7 separate regions of the Homo sapiens genome follow, and regions 2, 3, 4, 5, 6 and 7 are each linked to region 1. The links are contacts of gene promoters, found by promoter capture Hi-C in blood cells and fetal thymus (Javierre and others, 2016). All regions are on one chromosome and are shown on one strand. Each heading gives the region's core, a stretch centred on a gene start or on the middle of the fragment in contact. The rest is flanking DNA. Distances are from core to core; before and after follow the strand shown.

The links. The method cuts DNA at HindIII sites, captures the fragments that hold promoters and counts their contacts. A CHiCAGO score of 5 or more calls a contact.
Region 2: a fragment that was not itself captured here is called in contact with the fragment with the promoter of KCMF1 in region 1 in 5 of 17 cell types (naive CD8 T cells, total CD8 T cells, non-activated CD4 T cells and 2 more); the score reaches 8.0 in naive CD8 T cells.
Region 3: a fragment that was not itself captured here is called in contact with the fragment with the promoter of KCMF1 in region 1 in 9 of 17 cell types (naive CD8 T cells, total B cells, naive B cells and 6 more); the score reaches 12.2 in naive CD8 T cells.
Region 4: the fragment with the promoter of DNAH6 here is called in contact with the fragment with the promoter of KCMF1 in region 1 in 9 of 17 cell types (naive CD8 T cells, non-activated CD4 T cells, total CD4 T cells and 6 more); the score reaches 19.6 in naive CD8 T cells.
Region 5: a contact is called between a fragment that was not itself captured here and the fragment with the promoter of KCMF1 in region 1, in 2 of 17 cell types (total CD4 T cells and naive CD8 T cells). The highest score is 7.3, in total CD4 T cells.
Region 6: a contact is called between a fragment that was not itself captured here and the fragment with the promoter of KCMF1 in region 1, in 6 of 17 cell types (M2 macrophages, fetal thymus, M0 macrophages and 3 more). The highest score is 6.8, in M2 macrophages.
Region 7: a fragment that was not itself captured here is called in contact with the fragment with the promoter of KCMF1 in region 1 in 1 of 17 cell types (total CD4 T cells); the score reaches 5.3 in total CD4 T cells.

Annotation. Positions count from the first base shown.
Region 1 is chr2:84,969,227-84,972,653 of GRCh38, forward strand. It overlaps KCMF1 (potassium channel modulatory factor 1), which reads left to right and starts at 1,935. Exons shown (of 7, transcript NM_020122.5): 1 at 1,935-2,241. The coding sequence starts at 2,226. RefSeq lists an enhancer at 862-941 and silencers at 1,440-1,689, 1,720-2,809. The HindIII fragment of the contact is 10,310 bases long and covers 1-3,427 here.
Region 2 is chr2:84,476,104-84,479,530 of GRCh38, forward strand. It overlaps a transcript of DNAH6 not described here. Among named protein-coding and RNA genes, the nearest start is that of SUCLG1, 19 kb to the left of the region's middle. The HindIII fragment of the contact is 428 bases long and covers 1,312-1,739 here.
Region 3 is chr2:84,497,413-84,500,839 of GRCh38, forward strand. It overlaps a transcript of DNAH6 not described here. Among named protein-coding and RNA genes, the nearest start is that of DNAH6, 17 kb to the right of the region's middle. The HindIII fragment of the contact is 1,553 bases long and covers 1,054-2,606 here.
Region 4 is chr2:84,514,774-84,518,200 of GRCh38, forward strand. It overlaps DNAH6 (dynein axonemal heavy chain 6), which reads left to right and starts at 1,725. Exons shown (of 77, transcript NM_001370.2): 1 at 1,725-1,810; 2 at 3,046-3,278. The coding sequence starts at 3,054. The HindIII fragment of the contact is 7,595 bases long and covers 1-3,427 here.
Region 5 is chr2:84,535,082-84,538,508 of GRCh38, forward strand. All of the region lies in intron 4 of DNAH6 (dynein axonemal heavy chain 6), which reads left to right. Among named protein-coding and RNA genes, the nearest start is that of DNAH6, 20 kb to the left of the region's middle. The HindIII fragment of the contact is 3,953 bases long and covers 1-3,427 here.
Region 6 is chr2:85,324,509-85,327,935 of GRCh38, forward strand. TGOLN2 (trans-golgi network protein 2) reads right to left here. Exons shown (of 4, transcript NM_006464.4): 1 at 3,409-3,427; 2 at 2,000-3,177; 3 at 407-490. Among named protein-coding and RNA genes, the nearest start is that of TGOLN2, 1.8 kb to the right of the region's middle. RefSeq lists enhancers at 2,084-2,253, 2,494-2,673. The HindIII fragment of the contact is 413 bases long and covers 1,945-2,357 here.
Region 7 is chr2:84,624,139-84,627,565 of GRCh38, forward strand. DNAH6 (dynein axonemal heavy chain 6) reads left to right here. Exons shown (of 77, transcript NM_001370.2): 27 at 127-252; 28 at 327-482; 29 at 764-925. Among named protein-coding and RNA genes, the nearest start is that of DNAH6, 110 kb to the left of the region's middle. The HindIII fragment of the contact is 1,153 bases long and covers 1,247-2,399 here.

The sequences.
Region 1 (3,427 bases), core at 685-3,184:
CTGTTGTAGGCTTTCCTATCTGCTCCACCATTTTATCAGACTACAGCACTGATAATGCCTTAATCTCTATACAATTTATTTATAGACATCACTTACCCATCAGGAGACAATGGGATCAGCGTTGTTCTCCCCATTTTTACAGCCCAAGAAATTGAGGCTCCTGATACCCAGGATCACATATGCCAACACCGTAAAATGCTCAGAAAGGCATCGACACAGAGCTTTACTTAATACCCTTCTTTCTACTCCACCACACCCCATTTACGGCCAGGTTGGATCTCTTTCTACAAGAGAAATGGAATAAATTTGTGCAGGAGCTCCATACAGGCAATAAAAATATCTCTGGTGACAAAGTCCTCATTTAAACTCCAGTTTGTTTATCACTAGTTACTACCAAATACAGTCCCTTGGGAGTTCTGAGTGACCCAAAACCTACTTCCTGGACTTCAAGATGAGCTTTTAGTTTCTTTGAAATCAGGAAGTGTCTTAAAACCAGATTCAATGAAATACGGTAACAATCTTTTTACTGTGTCCTGTGCTAGGTATTTTATATGCATTTTAGCACTTAACCTCCAAACCTCTTATTATTAAACCTCTGTTGTTACGTCCATTTTAAAGATAGAAAAGTCAGGGCACAGAGAGGTTTAGAGATCACACAGCCAGCAAATGGTGGACAGTATAAGAGTAACCTCAAAGCAAGCAGTACCCCAGATTCCAATTTCAGTTGACTTAGCCTGGTAACAGTTCAATTTTATGCAAAACCCACAACTTCAAATGGAAAAAGATAAATTAAAACAACCACAAAAACCAGACAAATGGAGGCTCAGCAGGCCTTGTAGCTCATCCACGGTTACACAGAGGATCTCAGAGCCAAAATTCCATGGCCGATCCGTCTTGACTTCAAAGCGCGATCTATTTCCACCAAACCACGGAACCATCGACACGTGGTAAGGGGCAGTACAAAGATTTGTTGAATTAATAATGCCTGAAAACAAATTGACAATAAGAAGGTAAAAATGGAAAACACAGATAAAATCGGAAAAGCAGACCACTTTCAGGAAACAAAAAACTCCAAATTTTCAAGGCAGGGCATTCACGGTGAGCCAAGGCGCTGGGACAAAGTTTGCGCGGGTACCGCCGGACTCCCGGGCTGCCCGGCGCGGAGTCTTTAACGGAGATGGTTCGCAAGGAATCGGCCTCGGAGCCCGGCAGCCTCCTGGCTTCCCTCCTGACCACCAGTAACCCGGCCGGGAAACACTGGCGAAGACCGGGGGCCAGTCGCCTTCCCTTTCTGGGCTGTTGGCTTAAAATACACACAAACACAAGTCCCCAGGCGGTCCGCGGCCTCTCAGTGGGGCTGGAGCTCGCTGCCCGAGGCCCGCCCGGAAGCCATGCACCTGCGGACAGGAGTCTCTCCGAGTCGCAGCTCGCCGCCGAGAAGCACCCACCTCCCGCGGCCGGCGCAGCCCAAGGCCCTGGCCCCTATAGCCCGGCCTAGGCCCGCCCCAGGCGGGGCTAGGGGCGGCGTGGCGGGCGGGCGCCCCTCGGGCCGCGCCGGTGAGCAGCGGGAGCCGGCGCCGGGCATTTCCTCTTCCTCCCTACGCGCGGCGCGGCGGCGGCGGCGGCGGCCAGGCCGAGGCTGGGCACGGGCGCCCGATCGCGGCCTGCTGGCTAGCGCGGGCAAGCGCCGCGCCCCGAGCCGCCGTCGCCGCGTCGCCCCCGTCGCGACCGCCGGCCGCGGGGCCTCCGGGCGGCTGGGCCCGGCGAGGGCAGCGAGAGGCGGGGCTGGCGTGCGGGCGGCGGAAGGAGGCGGAGGAGGAGGAAGAGGAGGAGGAGGAGGCGGCGGCCGGGAGCCGGGGGAGAGGGGCGGGGGGTGGGCCGGGGGAGGGGAGGAGCGGGATTTGCGGAGCGCCGCGCCGCTGCCGGGAGCCGGCAGGCCCGAGAGTGACCGGAGTCACGGCGGGCGCCGGCGGAGCTGCGGCGTCGGACCCGCCTCCTGGAGGAGCTCAGCCCCGACCAGGCCCGGCCCCATTCCCGCCCCGCGCCGCCTCCCCGCCGCCGCCGCCGCCGCCGCCGCGGGAGCGCTCCCCTGCCCACCCCGCCCCCGCGGCCGAGCCCGGGAGTCGAGTGGGAGTCGGCCGGCCGGCGCGGGCAGCGCCGGGACCCCGCGGGGGACACTGCAGCCGGAGCCCGGGAGGGGCCGCGCCGCCACCGTCTGAACTAGGATGTCCCGACATGAAGGTGAGAGGAGCCCCCGCCCCCACCCGCACCTCCCGGGCCTCGGCCTACCCCGCCCGGGCCGGGCGCGGCGGAGGGCGGCCGGGAAGCGGCGGAGACTTTGGCCGAGCCCGAGCCGGGCCCGAGGCGCTGGACCCGGGAGCGAGCGAGCGAGGGCGGAGAGCCGCGGCGCCGCTGCCGCCACGGCCGCGGCCCTTAGCTGGGCCTGGTGCTGGAGGCGGGGCGGCCCGGGCGGCCGGAGGGTTTGCACTGTCATGGGGCGGAGGGGGAGGGGAGGCGGCGGGGCCCGTTACCGGCGGGAGCTCGGCCTTCGGGACTGATACCGGACGCCAAGGCCCGCCCGGCCGGTTCAGGAGCCGCGGGCCCCAGCGCGGCCTAGCGCTCCCGCCGCCCCGGAAGAGCCCGGTGTGGTCGCAGAGCCGGGCCGCGGGCGGCAGCAGGAGGCAAAAGAGCCGGCCCGGGACCCGGCAGGCGCGTCCGGTCGCCGGGAGACGACGGCGAGTGTCCCCGCCTGCGGGCGACCGCGGGGCTGGCGGGAAGGCTCTGCGGCCAAGGGACGGGAAGCCCTCGCCGCCTGGAGCCCGCCCCGGCCTCGCGGCTAGGCCTCGGCGCGTCCCTGGGCTCGGGTAACCAAGTTCCCGGGGTGGATCCGACCCCGCCGCAGCAAGCAAACTCCCTGCTCAGTCACCCAGGCGGAGCAGGGCTCGCTCCCCGCGGCCCTGGTGCCCTCGCCGGCATGTGCTGCCTACCAGACCAGGTTTTGGAAAATGACGATGGTGAGGTCTGTTCATGGTCGGGGGTCGTTTTGGACCTTGTTTTGCCATTTTAAAACACGATTGGAGTACAGTTGCAAATAAGCAGACAGCTCTAAGCCCAGTCCCAGGGCACAAAGAGACAAATGTTTAGGGTCGATGTATAGGCTTTGAGCTGGTAAGAAATAAGTTAACTTTAATTTATTGCCATATGGTTTAGAAAAGGAGGAGGGGGTTGTGTTTTCTTTGTTTCACTACTACAGGTTTTTGGATAAAAAGTGTTAAGAGTCTTGGCGAAAAGTTTGTCCTGCTAAGGTTAATACAAGATTGTAGAAGTGGCTTGAAAGTTTGTGTACTCCGGATTTTAAAATCCTGTATAGGTGATGTAGGAGTGGAGAAAGTTTAGTGAGTCAGTTTAGTGTGTGCTTAGCACTATG
Region 2 (3,427 bases), core at 276-2,775, 490 kb before region 1:
AAAGTATCCCAATCATATGGTATTAATCTATTATCAAGAGAAACTTTTCAATTAAGTTTGCACAAAAGGAGAATTTGGCCCATATTGACTAATGGCTTGAATTCCTTTAACAGCTTAAAAGGAAAGGTGGTCCAATTAGCTATATTCTTTCCTCCCTGCTGGACTATAGTTACGGGAAATTGCCATGCTTCAAGGTCTCCCTCGGCTCTAGCCTTTTGAATAGAATTTTGTATAGCACCACCAATTGCTCCAGGTTTTAATGTTGCAACTACAGGAGCAGTAAGTTTTGTAGCTAATTCATCTTCTGGCCCATTAAGGGGAGAGAAAGGAGGTGGCCTTTCACTTAATTCAGCAGTTGGAACCGACGGGCTAGTAAAACATACTTTTTTCAGTTTCCCTTTCTTTTCTTTAATTTTCTCCATTTTCTGTTCCTCACATTCAGAATCTGAAGTTAGATTTTTACACTCATCCTCCTCTTCTTCATCTGAATCTGCCTCATCATCTGTTTGAAATGGCTCAAGAGCTGCTTTTATTAGCGCCCACATTGACCAAACTGAGACTGGAATTTTTGCTCCATCCTTATACGCGTTTTTAAAATCTCTGCCAATTCTCTCCCATTCATCCAACTCCATAGTCCCTCGTTCCGTGAACCATGGGCAAAACTGCTTTACTGCACTACAGAGTGTTAACAAATTCTGAATACTAACTTTCACTCCCCCTCTTTGTAATAATTGCCTTAGGAAATTTAAATAAGCAGAATGTGTGCTTTCACTTTGTCCTGTTGTTACCCTGGTTCTTCCAAGCACTCAGCTTTCCCACCGAGCTTCTTTTAAATGTCCTCAGGTGTCCTTTGACGGCGCATCCTCCACTTTCACATGCTCTAGCGTTCCTTCACTGGGGTCTTTGTCGCCCCACGTTGGGCAGCCAGGAATGTTGGGGGCAGGTGGGGGCAACAAAGTCCAGCAGAGTCAAAGGATTGAGAAAAAGAGTTTGAGAGAGAAAGTGGGACCAGGGGGCCATTGCAATTGTGGAGGCTGCAAAGGCCTGAGCTCTGGGAGCCCATGCTATTTATTGGTAATCCAACAAAGAAACAGGTGGTGAGAATGTGGGGGTCAAAAGGGCAGGCTCATGATCTACAGCTGTGATGGTTTAGCATTTATATGGAACATGTTCTGCTACTTGAGATAATGGGAATACAATCAATCTAGGAGCCTAGGAGGGCTAGAAGCAAGGAGCCAGCAAGTCTAGACACATTCCAGAGGACATTATGTCAGACATGCAAGCCCTGCCTCAGCTTTTTTCCCAACACTAAGCTTTTTCCCAATACTATTTAAGATGGCGTTTCTCTGGTTCACATGCCTCTGACAGACCCCTCAAACCTGTCTGGTAATTCTTTTGACTACCCACCTCCTTTCAAGTACATGCTGGGGTAGTGGGGATGGGGGGATAGCACCTAAGCTCTCATGGTTTCCCTTCTTCCCTAACCCGAGGATCCTTTACTGATCATGGACACATTGACTCACATTTTTGTCCTAAATCTAAGTTATTTCTTTCCTGAGGTCTTTAAGTTACACATTCCCTTCCTGAAGCAATGGACCAAGAAAGCCAAACAGAAATTGACTGGGGAAAGGGGGCTGAATATTTGTGAGGAGAGAGTGAAAGAATAGAAGGTAATATGGGAAGGAAAAGCATTTGCTAGTATTACAAAGTATCTTACCTCTAGAATCGGGATGTGCTAAAGCTTTGTATGAATTCACCCAGGCAATCTGACTCTGCCACATGGAAATGGAACAAAAAGAACCTTCTCTATGCCCAGTTCTGACAACTTCTTTCTGGAAAAAGAAAATCTGCCTTCTAAAGGAAAAACAGCTGCTTTGTCCCCAGTGTACTTGTATGTACACTTGAAGAGAAATGTAGTGTAACCAAGAGAGACAGGCTTCCGGGGCTGATGAGCCAGCTTAAGCCCTCAGGCCCCACTGTAGGTACTACTAATCCCTTCATAAAACCAGCAGAGGGATTAGGGAGCTTGTATCCTTCACCTTATTTAGGGAAGATGGTACAACACAAATCAGAAACACTTAACACTTCCTCCTAGGAGAACTATGAGGAAAGATGAATCAGGAGGGCCATGGATTATTTTCATCTGAAGTGCAGCCTCCAAGAGAGACAGAATCACACAGCACAATTCTAAGAAAGAACCAGCTAATACCACTGGGCGATTTGAGCAGAGGCAGATTCTTTCCTTCTCCTCTGACAGAGAGTGGCACTGCTTGTTGGGAGGTTGCCTTTCCCAAAAAATGAGGACAAGGAACTTTCTGAAATGCACCTACAGGGCCCTCTTGGAATCCAGTGACAGTTTGTTGAATGCTTGATCCACTCAGCACCTCTGAAGGGGAGGTTCCATCTGCATTGGACCTTATAGGAATGTCAAGAACTTTGACCTCTCCTCCAGAAGAAATGGATTCCAAATATAGTTTTCTTTCCTCATATTTGAGCCCTATTGCAGATTTGGCCCCCTGAAAAGCCAAAGTTGAATACCCTGTGTGCAAGAGTACCCCGGGGACCAAGCATGTTGAAAGGAAGCGAAGAGAGCAAGACTGGGCAGTGGGAGAGGTCCAGCTGTTTGTTATAGGCCCAACAACAATCTTGGCCAAAACCCTTAGAATTTCCCTGAATTGGGCCAAGATGCTCAGACCACCTGAGTTCCTGCCCAGTATCCAGGAGGAAGGAGGTCACATGAATGAATTGAAGATGGTAAATGAGGGGAATTTTACTGCTGTTGAAAGTGGCTCCCAGCAGGAAGGGGAGCTGAAAAGCAGATGGAGCAGGAAGGTAACCTTCCCCTGGAGTCCAGCTGTCCCCAGTTGGACTCCTCTCTGATGCTACACTATCAGCTGTCCCCAGCTGGACTCCTCTCTGATGCTACACTATCAGCTGTCCCCAGCTGGACTCCTCTCTGATGCTACGCCATCAAGCTGTCCCTCTGAAGTCAAGCTGCTTCTCTCTGATGTCCAACCGTAGTCTCCAACATTCAGCTGCTTATCCCCTCTACCAGCTGAGTTCTGGGGGTTTTACAGGCACAGGATCGGGTTCAGGGCAGGTGGTTTTAGAAAAGGCAACATTCAAGCAGTAAAACAGGGATGTATGGTCTCACTTTGGGCTGCAGTATTAGACTTTTCGGCTTGAGGGTGGGGCCCTTGCCGGGAACCTTTTCTGCCCAGAATGTCCCTGCCTCCTGTCTCTACCACTCTCATACTGTCCAGCACTGGATCCAGCCATTCTTCCACCACTTCTCTGAACTTCTGAAGACTTTTGCCCTATTTTCAGGGCAATGCTGTCTCAGAGGGATTAGATACATTAGGGCTTTTACCTAGTTTAATAGATAGCCTCTCCCAAATTACATGTTTGCAATCTAACAGAGATTACC
Region 3 (3,427 bases), core at 580-3,079, 470 kb before region 1:
CACATGCAAGTGTTTGTACAGATATAGACTTTGTTTCATTTCGCAAGGGTAAATACCTAAGAATAAAATACCTAGGTCATATGGTGACTATGTCCTTTACTGGCAATTTACTGACTGTGTAGCCTTGGAAGAGTAACTTTACCTCTCTGAATCTTAGCTGTGAAATAGGATTACCAACCCAGAATTTTAAGCCATTGAACTGCCGTAGGATTCTCTGTCATAGGCTATTGCTAGGGTGTATTTAAAACAGTAAAAACAAGTTGGCAAATTGGATTTTTATAAGCTCAGAACATTAGTATGATAACATATTTTTATGAGTAGGCATACTGTAATTTAGCAACAAAATCATTATTGAATAACCAAAGGCCTAACATTAGGATGAAAATAAGCAGAAAGGAACCAGGTAAGAGTATTAAGGCATCTGGGCAAACTGGCAATAGATGGCATTAGAATTGCAGCCACAGACCCAAAAGTGATCCCTGAAAAGCAACATGGCCTCCAGATCTCAGCTTGTCCCTACCCTTTGGCATATTGCCCACATCCCTAGAAGAGGTCTTGGCCCTTCCCAGCCCTTCCGTTCTCCACCATGAGCTCTGGGCCATGTACACTATGTACAGCAAGGTCCTTCCAGACAAGATAGGTTTCTGTACCTAAACTTCCATAGGGCCACCAATCAGGTACTGCAGAAAACCAAACAACTTGTCCTGAATCTCTGTGCTTCATTCTGTACTTCCCAAAGGTCTTGCAGAGACTAGATACTACAGCTGGGATATTTTCCCAATCCCTCTTCCATGAATCTGTAGGCTAAGGGACCAAGGAGTCTCATGCTAGGTCACACCAGTTATGACACTAATAGAGTTCTCAAACTCACTTTTTTGGCAGCATGTCTAGACATCACCCTGTCTTTAGACTCTCAGCCTTACTCTTCAGAGCACCTGGCCCTGATGTATTGCTTATTCAGAGCAGGCTCAAAAAGGCTTCTTGGTGTGCATAAAGCCCTAGTATTTGTTTGAATCATTTTACATTTGCTTCATCAAAAAATTCTAAATCTAAAGCTTTTTTTGTTTTTAGAATAGAAACCTGCTCAAGTAAAAAAAAAAAAATTTGAGAAGTTGGGTTTCTTTTAAAACTGAGTAATTTAGTGAGGTTGTGGAAAACACCCAGATTCAAGCCAAAGGCCTCCTGCTTCTAAAGTGACAGTGAGCAGAATTCAAAAGCAGCAAAAATAAGCAAGAGCACACTGCATTTTGTACTGCTCAGACCCAGAGTCCCATCTCAGCACCTGCCCTGCTATTCATGTGCTACTTTTTTTTTTTTAAATAGCACCACAGCCTCAGACATGGGGTTCACATTCCTCTTATTTGGTGGCTGTCACCCCTCACTGTCCCTTAGGTTTTTCCTTACTGACTGGGTTAGCTGTCAAATGGTAAAGTCTCTTATCTTTCATCTTCCCAATTGTCACCAAAGAGAGGCACACATCCATTTGCTGTTTTTAAATTTTTTTAATGTTGTGGGTGCATTGTAGGTACTTATATTTATGGGGTACATGAGATGTTTTGACACAGGGATGCAATGGGAATAAGCACTTCATGGAGAATGGAGTATCCATCCCCTCAAGCATTTGCAAACAATCCAATTTACACTCTACAAATTATTTTAAAATGTACAATTAAGTTATTACTGATTATAGTCACCCTGTTGTGCTATCAAATAGTGGGTCTTATTCATTCTTTCTATTTTTTGGTACCCATTAACCATCCCCACCTCCCCACAAACCCCCCACTACCCTTCCCAGTCTCTGGTAACCATCCTTCTACTCTGTGTATCCATGAGTTCAATTGTTTTGATTTTCAGATCCCATAAATAAGTGAGAACATGCAATGTTTGTCTTTCTGTGCCTGGCTTATTTCACTTAACATAATGATTTCAGTTCTACCCATGTTGTTGCAAATGACTGGATCTCATTCTTTTTATGGCTAAATAGTACTCCATTGTGTATGCATACCACATTTTCTTTATCCATTCATCTGTTGATGGACACTTAGGTTGCTTCCACATCTTATCTATTGTAAACAGTGCTGGAACAAACATAGGAGTACAGATATCTCTTCAATATACTGATTTCCTTTCTTTTGGATATATCCAGCAGTGGGATTGCTGGAGCATATGTTAGCTCAATTTTTAGTTTTTTGAGGAACCTCCAAACAGTTCTCCATAGTGGTTGTACTAATTTGGATTCCCGCCATCACTGTACAAGGGTTCCCTTTTCTCCACATCCCCCAGAGTTTGTTATTGCCTATCTTTGGGATATAAGCCATTTTCACTGGGGTGAAATGACATCTCATAGTAGTTTTGATTTACATTGATGATCAAGGATGTGGAACACCTTTTCATATGCCTGTTTGACATTTGTGCATCTTCTTTTGAGAAATGTCTATTCAAACCTTTTGCCCATTTTTTTGATCAGGTTATTAGTTTTTTTTTTTTTCCAATAGAGTTGTTTTAGTTCCTTATATATTCCGGTTAGTAATCTTGTCAAATGGGTAGTTTGCAACCATTCTGTGAGTTGTCTCTTCACTTTGTTATCGTACCCTTTGCTGTGCAGAAGCTTTTTAACTTGATGTGATCCCATTTGTCCATGTTTGCTTTGGTTGCCTGCGCTTGTGGGGTATTGCTCAAGAAATGTTTTTTCCGAGACCAATGTCCTGGAGATTTTCCCCAATGCTTTCTCATAGCAGTTTCATAGTCTGAAGTCTTAGATGTAGCTCTCTAATCCATTTTTATTTGATTTTTGTATATGGTGAGAGATGGGGGTCTAGTCTCATTATTCTGCATATGAATATCCAGTTTTTCCAGCATCATTTATTGAAGAGATTGTCTTTCCCCAGTGTATGTTCTTGGCATCTTTGTCCAAAATGAGTTCACTATAGGTGTGTGGATTTGTTTCTGGGTTCTCTATTCTGTTCCATCGTCTATGTGTTTGTTTTTATGCCAGTACCATGCTGTTATGGTTACTATAGCTCTGTAGTATAAACTGAAGTCAGGTAATGTGATTCCTCAAGTTTTGCTCTTTTTGCTCAGGATAGCTTTGGCTACTCTGGGTCTTTTTATGGTTCCAGATAAATTTTAGGATTGTCTTTTCTATTTCTGTGAAGAATGTCATTGATAATTTGATAGGGATTCCATTGAAACTGTAGCTTACTTTAGGTAGTATAGATATTTTAACAATATTGATTCTTCCAATCCATGAACATGGAATATTTTTCCATTTTTTGGTGTCCTCTTCAACTTCTTTCATCAGTGTTTCATACTTTTCATTATAGAAATCTTTCAGTGGTTTGGTTAATTCCTAGGGAATTAATTTATTTGTGGCTATTATAAATGAGATTACTTTTTAATTTCTTTTTCAGATTGTTCACTGTTGGCA
Region 4 (3,427 bases), core at 475-2,974, 450 kb before region 1:
TTGGAGAGATTTGATGAGTAGTGTTTCATATAGTAATATCTTTGTAAAACTATGTCTGTGTCTTCCAATCCTCCCACCCCCACTTCACCACAGTCACACACACACACACACACACACACACACACACTTCTTAGCTTTTGGAATGCTTTCAGCTGCACATGGTAACAGTTGTGTACAATCCACCTTAATCTAAAAAAGGGAGTCTAGGATTGAGGAGCAATAGATTTGTCTCCATTGCATAAACTTTGAAGGGAACAGATTAAAATTTTCACTGCACATCTGAAATGAAATCTATTCTGAGGATGTGTCTAACATTGCTTGTTATTATAACTTTATGCTTCGATGTACTGAGTTGGCTTTGAATTTCTTTTTCCATTATTAGTTTATATCAATGATTGCATTTTACTAGCTGACTAGTTTTGTGTGTATTTTTCATCTCTGGGGAATTAATCTTTATTTTGTCTACATTTGAAGTTTTTCAGAATTTTTAAAATTTTTTCTAAACTGACTTTACTCTCTTGCTGTTTCCAGTTTCTCATTAGGGATTGGGAGATCTGCATTCTAGTTTTGTCTGTGGCACAACTAGCTGCCTGACCTGGAGTAAAGCACTTGCTTTCTCTGGGCTTCAGTTCCCTTACAAATCAAATAGGGGAGTTGGACTATGTGACCTGTAATCTCCATTTTAGCTCTATCTGTGATTTAGAGAATCATACTACCATATCAAATACATAACTGAATATGTTAAGATTGAGAAGATGCAGGCTGTGAGTACAATAATGTAAAGAACTTCACATAGAGCAAGAAACAAATATCAAGGTAACAAAGAGCAACCGAAAAGAGCAAAAGAAAATGATGATTATGTCATTTTGGAGACAAGGTTGAAAACCAGAGCTCCTCCATGTGGTGTAAGGATTCATCAAGACAGGTGAAAGGATTTCTTCCCCTGATCAGTAACTGGGATAAGGCATCCCGAGTAAGCAACAGGCCCTGGCCTTCGATGGGGTCGCTCCATACAAAATTAGCAACAGTCACTTGGGAACTTAAGTGAGATTAAACGCCAGAATAAGATCCAGGGTCTGCTTTGGTAGAAGGGGCACGGGAACCAAGTAATACGGGCTCATCCTATGCCTGACACCTAGGTTACCTTCCAAGTGGAAAAGGACATTAGTTGGAAGGCCACAGTGGAGTTTAAGGGAAGAGGAGGCCACATTTCTTGAGCCTTAAGACACTCGGGAGGAGGTTGGCGGGTAGGGCAGGGATGCAGAGTGGTTGCTTCCTTGGAGAGTGGGACCTCATTTGTCTACACAACCCACATTCCTCTCCTGAAATTCTCGACTCTTTCGGATAAATTTCTATTAAAGTGAACGTCAAGTCAGTCTTACGCCTCTTGAAGGAAAACAGAAAAGAAATTCCTGTAAGAGGTTGAGATGGGTGTGAGTGGTCGATAAGCAACGAAGCAAACAGAATTAACCACCTCCTTTGGCTGCTCTGCCTACACCTCCTGGCACAGTACTCAATTCCCAGCGCAGAGGAGGAACCAGGCTGTGCGGCTTCTCCAACAATCAGCGAAGTAGGAAATGTTTCGGAGACACTAATTGGCTCGATTGCCTGGCGCGCTCCTGGACCGAAAGCTGTGGCTGGTTGAGGCGTTGCCTGGCGACGTGTTACTCAGTGGCGCAGTGCTTCCGTAGAGGCCAGCTGGTTGCTACGCAGCAACAGGAAACATTCCGCGCTACCGAGTACTTTCTACTCCCGACCAGGCATTGCTCTCTCTGGAGACCCTCGGCGGTGGTTGCTGTATTTTGACTTGGTGAGTCCTGGGAACCGACCCTCGGGCCTGGGCTCCGATTTCTGGGCCAGAAACAAAGTCTGACTTTCGGAGAACATAAAGGCTCAAAGAGGCAGAGAAAATCAATGGAAAGGCATTTCAGTGATTGTCTGCTATCCGCCCATCATTTTAGAGGGGTGGAAAGTGAGCAATAGCGATATCAAAAGACTTGTCCAAGATCTCACGCTGAGTGGTCAAATCTGGACCTGCGCTGTTAAATACGGTAATCTTTAGACCTCGTGTGGCTAGTCTGAATTGCAATGTGCTCATATGTAAAAAGCACACTGGATTTTGAAGGCGTGGTACCAAAAGACAACATAAGATATCACTATAATTTTTATACTGTGTGTTCAAATGATTATGTTTTGTATATGGTAAATAAAACATATTATTAAAATTAATCTCACCTATTTCTTTTTTAAAAATGCTATTGCTTGAAAATTAAAATTGCATACAAAGCTCTCATATTTCTATTGGCCAGCACTGATCTATATAAAACCTAGGTCTGCCGACACCTGATTCAAGACCTCTTGTGCTAACCCTATTTTGGAAGGTGTTTCGAAGTATCTCCACTCATCTAATGGGGTGAAAGTGTGCGTGGTGGTGCAGAGTGCAAGACCATTACAAAAGGCTCATATTTCTAGTGTTTTAGGACCTTGCTACTCAAAGTGTATGAATCAGAACCTTCATTTTAACAAGCTCTGCAAGTGATTGTCCTGCACGTTAAAGCTCCAGAAGCACTGTGTAAGAAATTAGCCCTCAATTCTTTTTTTTCCCTTTGTTTCTTCTTGAGTACCTATACTGTATTTTTCAGACTGCGTGTACTAGAATTAGCTGCATTTTGAACAAGTTCCGCAGGAGATGAGAAACATTGATCTCAATACTAATTACATTTCCTTTTGTCCTTCCAAATCTAGACCAGTGTGGTCTCCAGATGAGCAGCAGCAGCAGCATCCGCCAAGAACTTGCAAGAAATGCAAATTCCTGGGTTCCACCCTAGCTACAGGGGTTCTTGAAGCCTAGGCACAGTTTCTAATTTTTTATTCCTTTGGTTCAAGTCCTCAGTTCGGGAAGACTGGGGTAACTTTGATGGGTTTTATTTGAGGGAAGTGAGCGAATTCAACTCTTCCTAGTCCTTAAGTCCCTCTCCAGTAGCCTCCTTCCCCAATCCTTTTGATCTACTTTTCATTTTCTTTTTCCTCACCTATTCTTTTCAGGAGTAAGGATGACTTTTCGGGCCACAGATAGTGAATTTGACCTGACAAATATTGAAGAGTATGCCGAAAATTCTGCACTTTCAAGACTGAATAATATAAAAGCCAAACAAAGAGTGAGTTATGTGACATCCACAGAAAATGAATCTGATACACAAATCCTAACGTTTAGGCACATTACAAAAGCTCAGGAGAAGACAAGAAAACGACAGCAGCCTATAAAACTAGAGCCTTTGGTAAGTTCAAAAACCATTGTTTTAGCCTCTGTAGCCACAGAGGAAGTTGTAAAATTGCTTTGGAGGATAGAAGTCATGTCCAGACTCTGAACTGACAAAGAAGGAATGAAAAGCTAAAAGATAATAACTGCTTATGTAGTTGTAAATAC
Region 5 (3,427 bases), core at 446-2,945, 430 kb before region 1:
AATGAAACCTATATACCAATACTTTATATTTTCTTACCACATCCTTGAGTTTTTAAAAAATTTTAAATCATTTGCTGATATTAAGGTCTACAATTCTCTTGAATACTTCATGGTAATATGGATTTAATTTTGACATTTATTTATCTTTTTGCTCATTTATAAGGAAAATTTTCTGTTAAAGCTAGAAAACTATCAGATCTATATGGCAAACACAGAAGTCAAAAGAGATGAGAAATTAGGCAGCATAATTAGGATTATCTCAAACTTAGATTTGTAAACTACAGTAATAGACCTGTCCTTTTGCCTAAATATCTTATTTGTATAAAAATGTTATCAAATTAACCAGTGGTGTCAAACAAGTTATTTCAACACCTTTTCAGAGATATCCACCCCACCCAGAAAAGGGTTTGAGCTTTTAAAAGCATTACAAGAACAAAATATGAAACAAATTTCTGTTTTTAGATTAGTATCAGATAAAGAAGCTCAAGAAGCTAGGAGTGCAAGAACACATAATATCTAACATCAGAATGAATCACTATTGTAGAATTGTGATTTTACCAGCTTGTGTGGAAGTTTTTTATACTACTTGGAACCAGAAAAGCAAAAAAAAAAAAAAATCAGTAACATCATTAGTAGACCAACATATTAGATGATATAGATGATCATAATCCAAGACATTATTAAAGTTTTATTGCAATATTTAATTGCATATTGATGAATCTGTAGACATTAGTAACTGCTAGACAACAGCACTATTTAGAGTCTCTGAGGTGAAATGTCTGGAAGAACTTTGTTTAGGAAGAAGAAAAAAGAACTCTCTGGGGATTAAATATTCAAGGCAAATGAGGTATTATGAAAATACTTCTTAAAAATGTTTGTTACAACCAAGGTTTACTCTGATAGCACTGGTATTCAAGTAATATGTTATTTGCAGAGGGACTTCCATATGTAAATGGTTTCCTAAAATTATGAATTACAAATTTAAAAATATTGTCAAAATGATGTCCATGATAAAATCCAAGCTATCAACCACATAACCATTTGTTTTTAGCTTTCTACAAAAAACTGAGAACAAATACTATTTTTCGTTGTTTCATAGTTAAGTGCATTGGCAATCCAAAGGATGAGTTTTATCAAGAATTGGGAAGTATTTTGCAAATGATCCAACTTTGCAGATTTAGTAAAGGTTAGTTCTTAGTTACACACCTGGGTTACTTAATTGACATTTGACCACCTGAATAGCTTAACTGAAAAATTACGGCAGCTGCCAGGAAATATATTAACACTTACTGACAAAGATTAGGAATCGACAGCAAAAATTCAACTTGGGAAACGTAATGTTTAAAATGGTTCTCATGATTTTTTAGACGCTGCTGTGGATTTGAACCTAAAGAAAGATTATTAAGTCAAATAGAATAACTTCTGTGTTTGAGAGAAATCTTCACCATTGTTTCTAAAATCATTACAAGAAATGTCAACACTGCATCAAAGAAAGACAAGTAACAACTGTTAGAGTTAAAGAGTGGTGGTACCTTTGGTGAATAATTTCAAGAGAACAAGGTATCCAAATTTTGACTAGTCGAAAAGGGAGTTTTCATCTGTCAGAGACAAAACAATAAATAAATCATCTTCTGCCATTTGCTGCCTGCTACTTTTACAAAGTTTCTTAGGAGTGGTGACTTCAAGAACTTGGACAGATCATTCATCATGTCTTGATTAGACATGATGTAGCTACTTCAAAAAAGTTATGGTCACAGCTGTGGTTGCTTATGAGCTAGACATAATTGGAAGTTTTATCAAATATTATATCCCTAATTTGGGATAATTATGTCCCAAATTAAAAATTATATAATCTCACATATTATGTGCATTGTGTTTTGTCATATTATATAAAGAAATTGTAATTAATGTCTTCACCAAGCCCCTGCAGTTTATATCAGTGTGCCTTATAAAATGTTATTATTGCATGGGTTTTATAACATTCAAAGTTTGAGAAGCATTGTGCTAGAGGATTGTAGAATGATTTTCTCCTGCATAAGAATCTGACCTTTGGCTAATCCTGCAGCTGTGTACCCTCAATAACCTAAAAAACGTAAAATATTGTTTATAGGCAACATTGCTTATGATAAAAATGACATCAATTAGTAAATTATAGCTGCATTAGGAGGAACTAAGAAATAATTATAAATACCTTATGGGGAGTCATAGCTTTTGACTTCCCATAGTTCAGATTCTTTTTTTCTGAGCATGTGCCCTGTAGGAATGCTGAAATCTATGCTTATGGGGTTATTGCAAGAGATGCTGGCTCCTGTGAGTAATAAGGCTTTTAGGCCAGAGTGGCTTTCATATGCACTCAATGTGGATCTCATCTTTTTGCATCTGAGTTGACACCTAGGGAGAAGATAGCTCCCAGGTGGCTATTAGACTGCTGCAAGGACTCCAATGGGAAAGTAATGTCTGATGCTGCCCTGAAGGCAATAAGTGGTTCCGGGTTTTTCTGAGTAGATGGATGCCAAATAGAAGTATATGAAAGTCTTGTGAGTTTTAACATTTAGTTGTATCTAAGAAGACCCCTGGTGAGGCAATTTTTAAGTATTCCTTTTTCAGGTTGGTATAAAAGGACCCACTGTTGATATTAAAAAGTTCTCTCCCTAGTAGATGGTAGGTGTTTTTCATATCTACGTAACCCTTCACCTCACCATTATTTCAATTATATAAATTCACATTTTGCTGTTTTTTGTTTTGGCCATTGAAATATAAACTTGCTCACACTGATAAGGAACTGTGGGTGCTTTTATAAGGCATAGTGGGGTACTAAGTCTTTGTGATGTTAATGGGTGAGTACTGCAACATGATAGTATTAACACCAACTATAGTATATGCCAAATCTTGTTCTAAATGTTTTATATGTATTAGCTCATTTAATCTCCACAGCAACTCTTTAAGGTAGGTAGGATTGATATACCCATTTTACAAATGATGAAAGTCACAGAATTAAGTTCACATAGCTAGTGAGTCATGGAGCTGAGATTCAGATTATTTGGATTTTAGAACCCAAGTCCTCATGCACGCCACTTAATATACTCATCCTCATAATGACAACTACTCCTGCATTTGTGTCACACACACTGTGTTAGGCATTGTGCCAAGTGCTTTCTGTACATTAATCTTCTTTCTTCCTCATAAACATCCCATTAGAATGGCATTATATGTAGTGGAAAGATAAGAAAATTGAGGTATAGATTAAAGACTTTTCTATTTGATATTGTTTTGTGATTTGCAGTAGGAAATTCAGAATAATGTCTGATGCTCCCATCTTTCAATTCTATGATTTCATTCTCTGTGCAATGTCAAGTTTAAAGCTATTAAAATCTAACAGATAGTTCAGATTGTATGGCGGAGCCTTCCCCCAAATCTGAGCATCTTT
Region 6 (3,427 bases), core at 901-3,400, 360 kb after region 1:
ATTCAAATGCCTATTAAAGTTTATGGAGCGCTGGCAGAATGCAGAAAGCTCAGGACTGGGAGACTAGGGAGTTGCTATCAGGTCCTGAGTTTGCCACTAACTTGCAGTAGAAACTTAGCGGAAAAAAAAAAAAAAGAGTGTTTCTGCGTGGGCCTATTTCCTCATCTGTGAAGGGAGGTAGCTGCTGTAGAGTATTCCAAGGTCTCTGCTAGCTCTAACGTCACAGATATGTGTATCTAGATGTTTCTAGTTTGTTGTCTAAAAAGGGCGAATGCAACAGCAACAGCAACCGCATCCCCAGAATCAGCCACTGCTGCTTCATGGCAAATGCAAGCCCACTACTGGGTCCATCTGACGTTGCCTATCCCTCCTATCCCTCCCATGGACCTGGCTCCTCCTTCCTTACCTTCTGGTCCAAACGTTGGTAGTCACTGGCCTTTGGCCGCCGGGTGACTTTAGATCTTTTTCCTTCCAGGACAAAAGCAATGATCTGAGGAAAGGAAAAAGAAAATGATTAACAGGTGGCTCTGTAATGACATAGTTCAGTCTCTGAACTCAGAGGCAGTCACCTGGTAGCATATTTGTTAATGACCCTGACTGTAGAAAGAGCAGTACACTCACAGAGGTCTATTTAAACTATAACCATTTTAAGAAAGACAGAGCCTAATTACATCAGAATCCTTTGTATTGCTTAATAGGAAATAACAAATAGAAGGCTGTCTGAGCTCTAGCGTGTGGGAGGAAGTCTGTTTGATTTATTCAAAGGTACACAGTCAAAGATCTATCAACTCCTTCCTAGAGATATCTAGGATATAGGACATTCCTTTAAAAAAAGTCATAATCAGAATTTCCTATCTACAAATGTACTTTTTCACCCCACGATGCTACATCAACTACATTCTTTATCAATCTCATTTCATGACTAAGGTTACCCTGCATAATGGACACTTGGACATAGAATAAGAAATACACTTTTTTTTTTTCTTAGAGGCAAGGTCTCACTCTGTCACCCGGGCTGGAGTGCAATGGCGTGATCATGGCTCACTGAAGCCTCGACCTCCCACAGTCAAGCCATCCTCCCACTTCAGCCTCCTGAGTAGCTGGGACCACACACGTCCACCACCACATCTGGCTAATTTTTTTATTATATGTAGAGACGAGGTCTTGCTATGTTGGCCAGGCTGGTCTCGGACTCCTGGGCTCAAGCGATCCTCCTGCCTCGGCCTCCCAAAGTGCTGGGATTAGAGGCAGGAGCCACTGCACCGGGCCAGGAATGCACATTTTTACTAAAGGTCTTCCCCTTTATTCTTTATAGCCATAGGCCTTATGGCCAGAATTGGACTCTCCAATTTTAAGCAGGTTACAGAAACTAGCTTCTAAATGTTGGGGGCTCAATATGAAATGCAATCATTTTGTCATTAGAGTGGTTGCTAATAAACAGACCAAACCCTGATGAAAAAGTAACAGGTGTACGTGTCTGTGCAATTTCTGGGCTTTCTTCTAATTATTATTAATTGCAGAAGTCCCTGGGCTCTTTGGTCCTGGTATCGAAGACGCAGTAATTGAAACCATTCTTTGTGCCACTGCTGATGGAAGAGAGAATGTTGGGAAAGGAAGCTAGAAATGACATATCGTCTCAAGAAGGGAAATAGGATGGAAGGTACGTGCTTTAACTGTCAAGTACTCAGGTCCTCTGAGGCTGTGAAGGACCTAAGTGCAAAGTTATGGGAGGAGATTCCAAGTCAGGTCAGATCCTAATAATGTCCTAACTTGGCTCCTAATGCAGTAGCAGAGGACACTCAGAGTAAACAGGTGACAGGATGAAAACACGATTAACAAAACAAGAGTAAAGAGGCCTAATAGGGCCTGAGGAAAAAACTGAAGTTTGTTTTAAAGTCCCCAGTGCTCACGGGCATCTAGTGACGGGATACCCACCCACACCCAAGCTTCCAGGGTGCTGGAAACCCCACTCCCCTCCGGAAGGCCGCTGTCGACTTACCTTCCGCTTGTTGTGATGAGCGATATAGAGGACAGCCACAAGAATGGCTGCAGTCACCAGATATGCAAAGAAGTGGCTGCTCTCCGCGCTGCCATTTCCAGAACCGTTCGGATAAAGGTCATCCTTCTCGCTACCCGTGGAATCCGAAAGTGTCCCTTCACGGTTCTCACTGGAGGCAGAACCGGACATCTTTTCTTTCTCTTCTTTGGGCGGTGAGCCCTCCTCGGGTCCTGTATCATCATCTTCAGCCTCTTTGGGCTCCACATCCTCAGTAGGCTCTGAAGACTTAACTTCCTCCTGCGGGGGAGAAATGAGGTCAGTTTCCTCCCCAGATTCGGTTTTGAAAGCATGAGGAGAAAGCTTCCCTTTGTCAGCAAGCTGGTTTGTGTCAGCCTTGGGGAGCTCCTTGTTATCAGAAGGGTTGGAGATGGGCTTGGAATGGTCTTTCCGGGAAGGCTGCTCTGGAACCACCTTGTTAGGGCTGTCTTTTGAGGTCTGCTCCTCCGCACCCGACTTGCTGGGCCCGTCTATTGGGCCCTGCTCCTCTGCACCGGACTTGTTAGAGCCGTCTTTTGGAGTCTGCTTCTCCGCACCCGACTTGTTAGGGACGTCTTTTGGGGTCTGATCCTCCGCACCCGACTTGCTGGAGCCGTCTTTTGGGGTCTGGCCGTCCGCACCCGACTTATTAGGGACATCTTTTGTGGTCTGCGCCTCCGAACCTGACTTGCTAGGGCTGTCTTTTTGGGTCTTTGCCTCCGCACCCGACCTGTTGGGGCTGTCTTCTGGGGTCTGCGCCTCCGCACCCGATTTGCCAGTGCTGTCTTTTGGAGTCTGCAGCTCCGGATGCGACTTACTAGTGCTGTCTTTTGTGGTCTGCGCCTCCGAACCCGACTTGCTAGTGCTGCCTTTTTGGGTCTTTGCCTCCGCACCCGACTTGTTGGAGCTGTCTTTTTGGGTCTTTGCCTCCGCACCCGACTTGTTGGGGGTGTCTTCTGGGGTCTGCGCCTCCGCACTCGACTTGCTAGGGCTGTCTTTTGGAGTCTGCGGCTCCGGATGCGACTTGGTAGAGCCTCCAGGCCGTTGGCTCAAGCTGGGGTGGGTGGAGACGTTTCCTGCAGAAGGCCGTACTCCAGCTTCTTCTTGCTTGACGCTTTCGGTGGCCAAGAGCGGCACGGCTCCTGAAATAGAAAAACGAGTTAGCACCGGAGAAGGGCAGGCGGGAAGAAGGAACTCCTCAGAACTGGAAGAGATCGGGAGCAGCGGGGGAATGGGGATTGGGGGGTGGGGCGGGAGACGATGGCGAGCGGAGAGGTGGGTCGGGTAGGGAAGAAGCGAGCCTAGAGGTGACCTGCCCAGGTGAGAATGGGGGATCTGGGGGCAAGAGTGGGATGCGGGATGGAGGGTCTTACCCGCCGCTGCGACGTTCAG
Region 7 (3,427 bases), core at 573-3,072, 350 kb before region 1:
AAATTATAGATTCTTAAAATTAGCTGGTTTTTAGCAATGTCTCTCCAAATTGAATGGTGAAAGAGATAATGTATATATGTAAGCTGATATTGGAAAATTCACCATGACAATTTTTTTTATTTGTAGAGATTAAATGCCCTAGCTGCAATAGTTCAAGGCAGTCTTCCTAAATTACACAGAAACATCCTAACTGCATTGATTACTATTGATGTGCATGCAAGAGATATAGTCACTGAACTTGTTCAATCCAAGGTAACTGTTTCATTTAAGTAAAATTATATACTTCTTTCTGAAATTAGTGTATCTAATATGTATATCACATATAGGTGGAGACAGTTGAATCTTTTGACTGGCAGAGACAACTGCGCTATTACTGGGATATAGACCTGGATAATTGTGTGGCTAGAATGGCGCTCTCTCAGTACACTTATGGCTATGAATATTTGGGTGCATGCCCAAGATTGGTTATTACTCCACTCACAGTAAGTTATTGATCACTTGGGTTAATATTGACACAAGAGTGCTTTTCAATCAAAAGTCTTGAAAAGTTTCATATGACATTAACTCTTGAAAGAATTTATTATGAATACATCTTTGTAAAGCAAATATTTGCATTATTTAATTATGTGCATGGATCTTTTGGTGTATTTCAATTGCTATATTTTTCATAGAAAATAATAATCCTTCCCCCATAGAGAGGAAATGCCTTAATTTGTGGCCAGAGTTGGTTCCCTTCATATTGATAATGCATTGCTTTCTTCAGGATCGCTGCTATCTTTGCCTCATGGGAGCTTTGCAGCTTGACCTTGGGGGTGCACCAGCTGGTCCTGCTGGCACTGGGAAAACAGAGACTACCAAAGATCTGGCAAAAGCTCTTGCCATCCAGTGTGTGGTCTTTAACTGTTCAGATGGTTTGGACTACAAGGTACAGTTCTTGCATCTGAATATTAACATTAAGTGTTTTATGTGTCTTTCTCTATTTGCAACATGACATAACAAAATAAGGCAAGAATGGAGTGATGACAAGCAAGAGAAAAGAAATGGGGTAAATAATGGTTAAAGTGGAATAAATAGAGCAAGGGAGAAGAGTCAACACGTGGTGGTCTGGGTAGTCTGGATAAGAATCAAGGCCAGGGGATGATTTGTCAAATGGTGAAAAAAATAAAAATCTGTACATGTCAGTAAGAAGAAAGAAACGAGATGAGGTACAAGATAGAATAGCAGGGAAACCGAAGAACAAGGACTAAGCTTAGAGTAGGAAATTGGCAATTTAGAGAATGGTGTATTGAACATGAAATATGTGGGAGGTGAGAATTCATGGTAAGGTTTTTCAATACAGTGGTTCTCAAACTTTTTGGTCATGGGACCCCTTTACACTCTTAAAAATTATTGAGACTTCCAAAGAGCTTTTGTTCATATGGGTTACGTATGTTGATATTTACCATGTTAGAAAAAATTAAGTAAAATATGTTTTATATATTTATTTGTTAAAAAAATAACAGTAAGCCCATTATATGTTAACTTAAACATGTTTTTGTAAAACAAAACTTCCAAACAAAAAACATTGTCCCACTATTTTATATTTTTGAAAATCTCTAATATTTTCAAGATATTGCTATTATGCTAATATTTGGCATAATAGAAGACAGCCAGATTCTCTGATTTGCTTCTACATTCAGTCTGTTGGGATATGTTTTTTTGGTTGAACATTTGAAGAAAATCTAACCTCACACAGATATGGACTCTGAAAAGAGGAATTTTTTTAAATAACTTTTTCAGTTAATTGTTTATACTCTTCTTTGAACTACACCAAAACTTGACAAATGTTAGTTTCTTAAAGGTTATTTGCTATGTTAAAACTTAAACCATATACACATCTTTTCGTACTCTATACTCTCATGAGAGAGTGAGAATGAAAAAGGCATATAACACCTTAGTATTATTATGAAAACACTTTGGCCTCACAGATCCCCTAAAAAAAAAACTCATGGATTTGCAGGGATCCTTGTTTGGCTTTATTTTTTCTGGTGGTTGCTATTTAAACTGTAAAAACATACATTTGTTTCTATATTTTTATGTACCCACTTTGGACACTATCTGCCAACATATTAAATAGATGAGGATTTTATTAGACACAACTTTGTGTGTCTAATGAAGTTGGACTTTCTATTTCAACCTCACTTTTACCATGTCAAGTTTTATAAAATTTGTATTTTATTCTATAACTAAATTATGTCTTCACTGCTTTGTCTGGGGGCTGAACATAAAAATGTAAATCCCTTATACAGTGCTTATAATATCAAAGATTGTTCATAGTGGAATTTAATAGAATAATTGGCCCCACAGAGAAAGATCAATACATATATCACAAACCCCTGCCATTCAAAGTAAACATCCTAAGCTTCAGGGTTAGTGGACTGTGTTTTCTTTCCACTTTCTTTACTTCTTCTAGAACCATTATTTTTCTCTTTTTTTATTTTTTATTTTGAGACGGAGTCTCGCTCTATTGCCCAGGATGCAGTGGCTCAATCTCGGCTCACTGCAACCTCTGCCTCCCGGGTTCAAGCAGTTCTCTGCCTCAGCCTCCTGAATAGCTGGGATTACAGGTGCCCACCACCACACCCGGCTAATTTTTGTATTTTTAGCGGAGATGGGGGTTTCACCATCTTGGCCAGGCTGGTCTGGTCTTGAACTCCTGACCTCGTGATCCACCCGCTTTGGCCTCCCAAAGTGCTGGGATTACAGGCGTGAGCCACCGCGCCCGGCCAGAACCATTATTTTTCTAACTACTGTGTGCTGTGAATCACCCGGAGATATTTATTAAACTACATATTATGATCTGCAGGTCTGGGGTGGGGCCTGAAATTATGCATTTCTGACATCCGCCAAGGTGGTGCAAATCGATACTGGTCCACTTTGAGACCGTGGTTCTGAGAGCGTGAACCCTGAACCAACAGCATTAGCATCACCTGACAACTTGTTGGAAATGCAAATTATAAAGCCCCACCTCAGACCTACTTAATCAGAACTTTGGAGCTAGAGCACAGCAACAAGAGGCTTTTTTGAAACAAACTTCCAGGTGATTCTGATGCACACTCAGATTTCAGGACCACTGTTCTAGAGTAGATTCAGCTGCCACTGTTTTTTGTATTTCAGTTTTGCGTCTTTCTTATGTTTCATTTTAATTTTGTTGGAATACTTCCTTGAGCAATTTTTTTCCCATTCAAGTTTATAAATATTCTGTCTTTACTGAGTCATCATACTTGATTGATAATTTGTAGAGGGTGGAATTATAGGTTTAAAATGATTTTCTCACCTGACTTTGAAGGCCTCACTTCATTGTATTCTAGTGTGCATTTTGCTAATGATAAAACTGATCATGGCTTAATACATTTTGGAGGTTTAATAATATTTTGCTTCCTCTCTG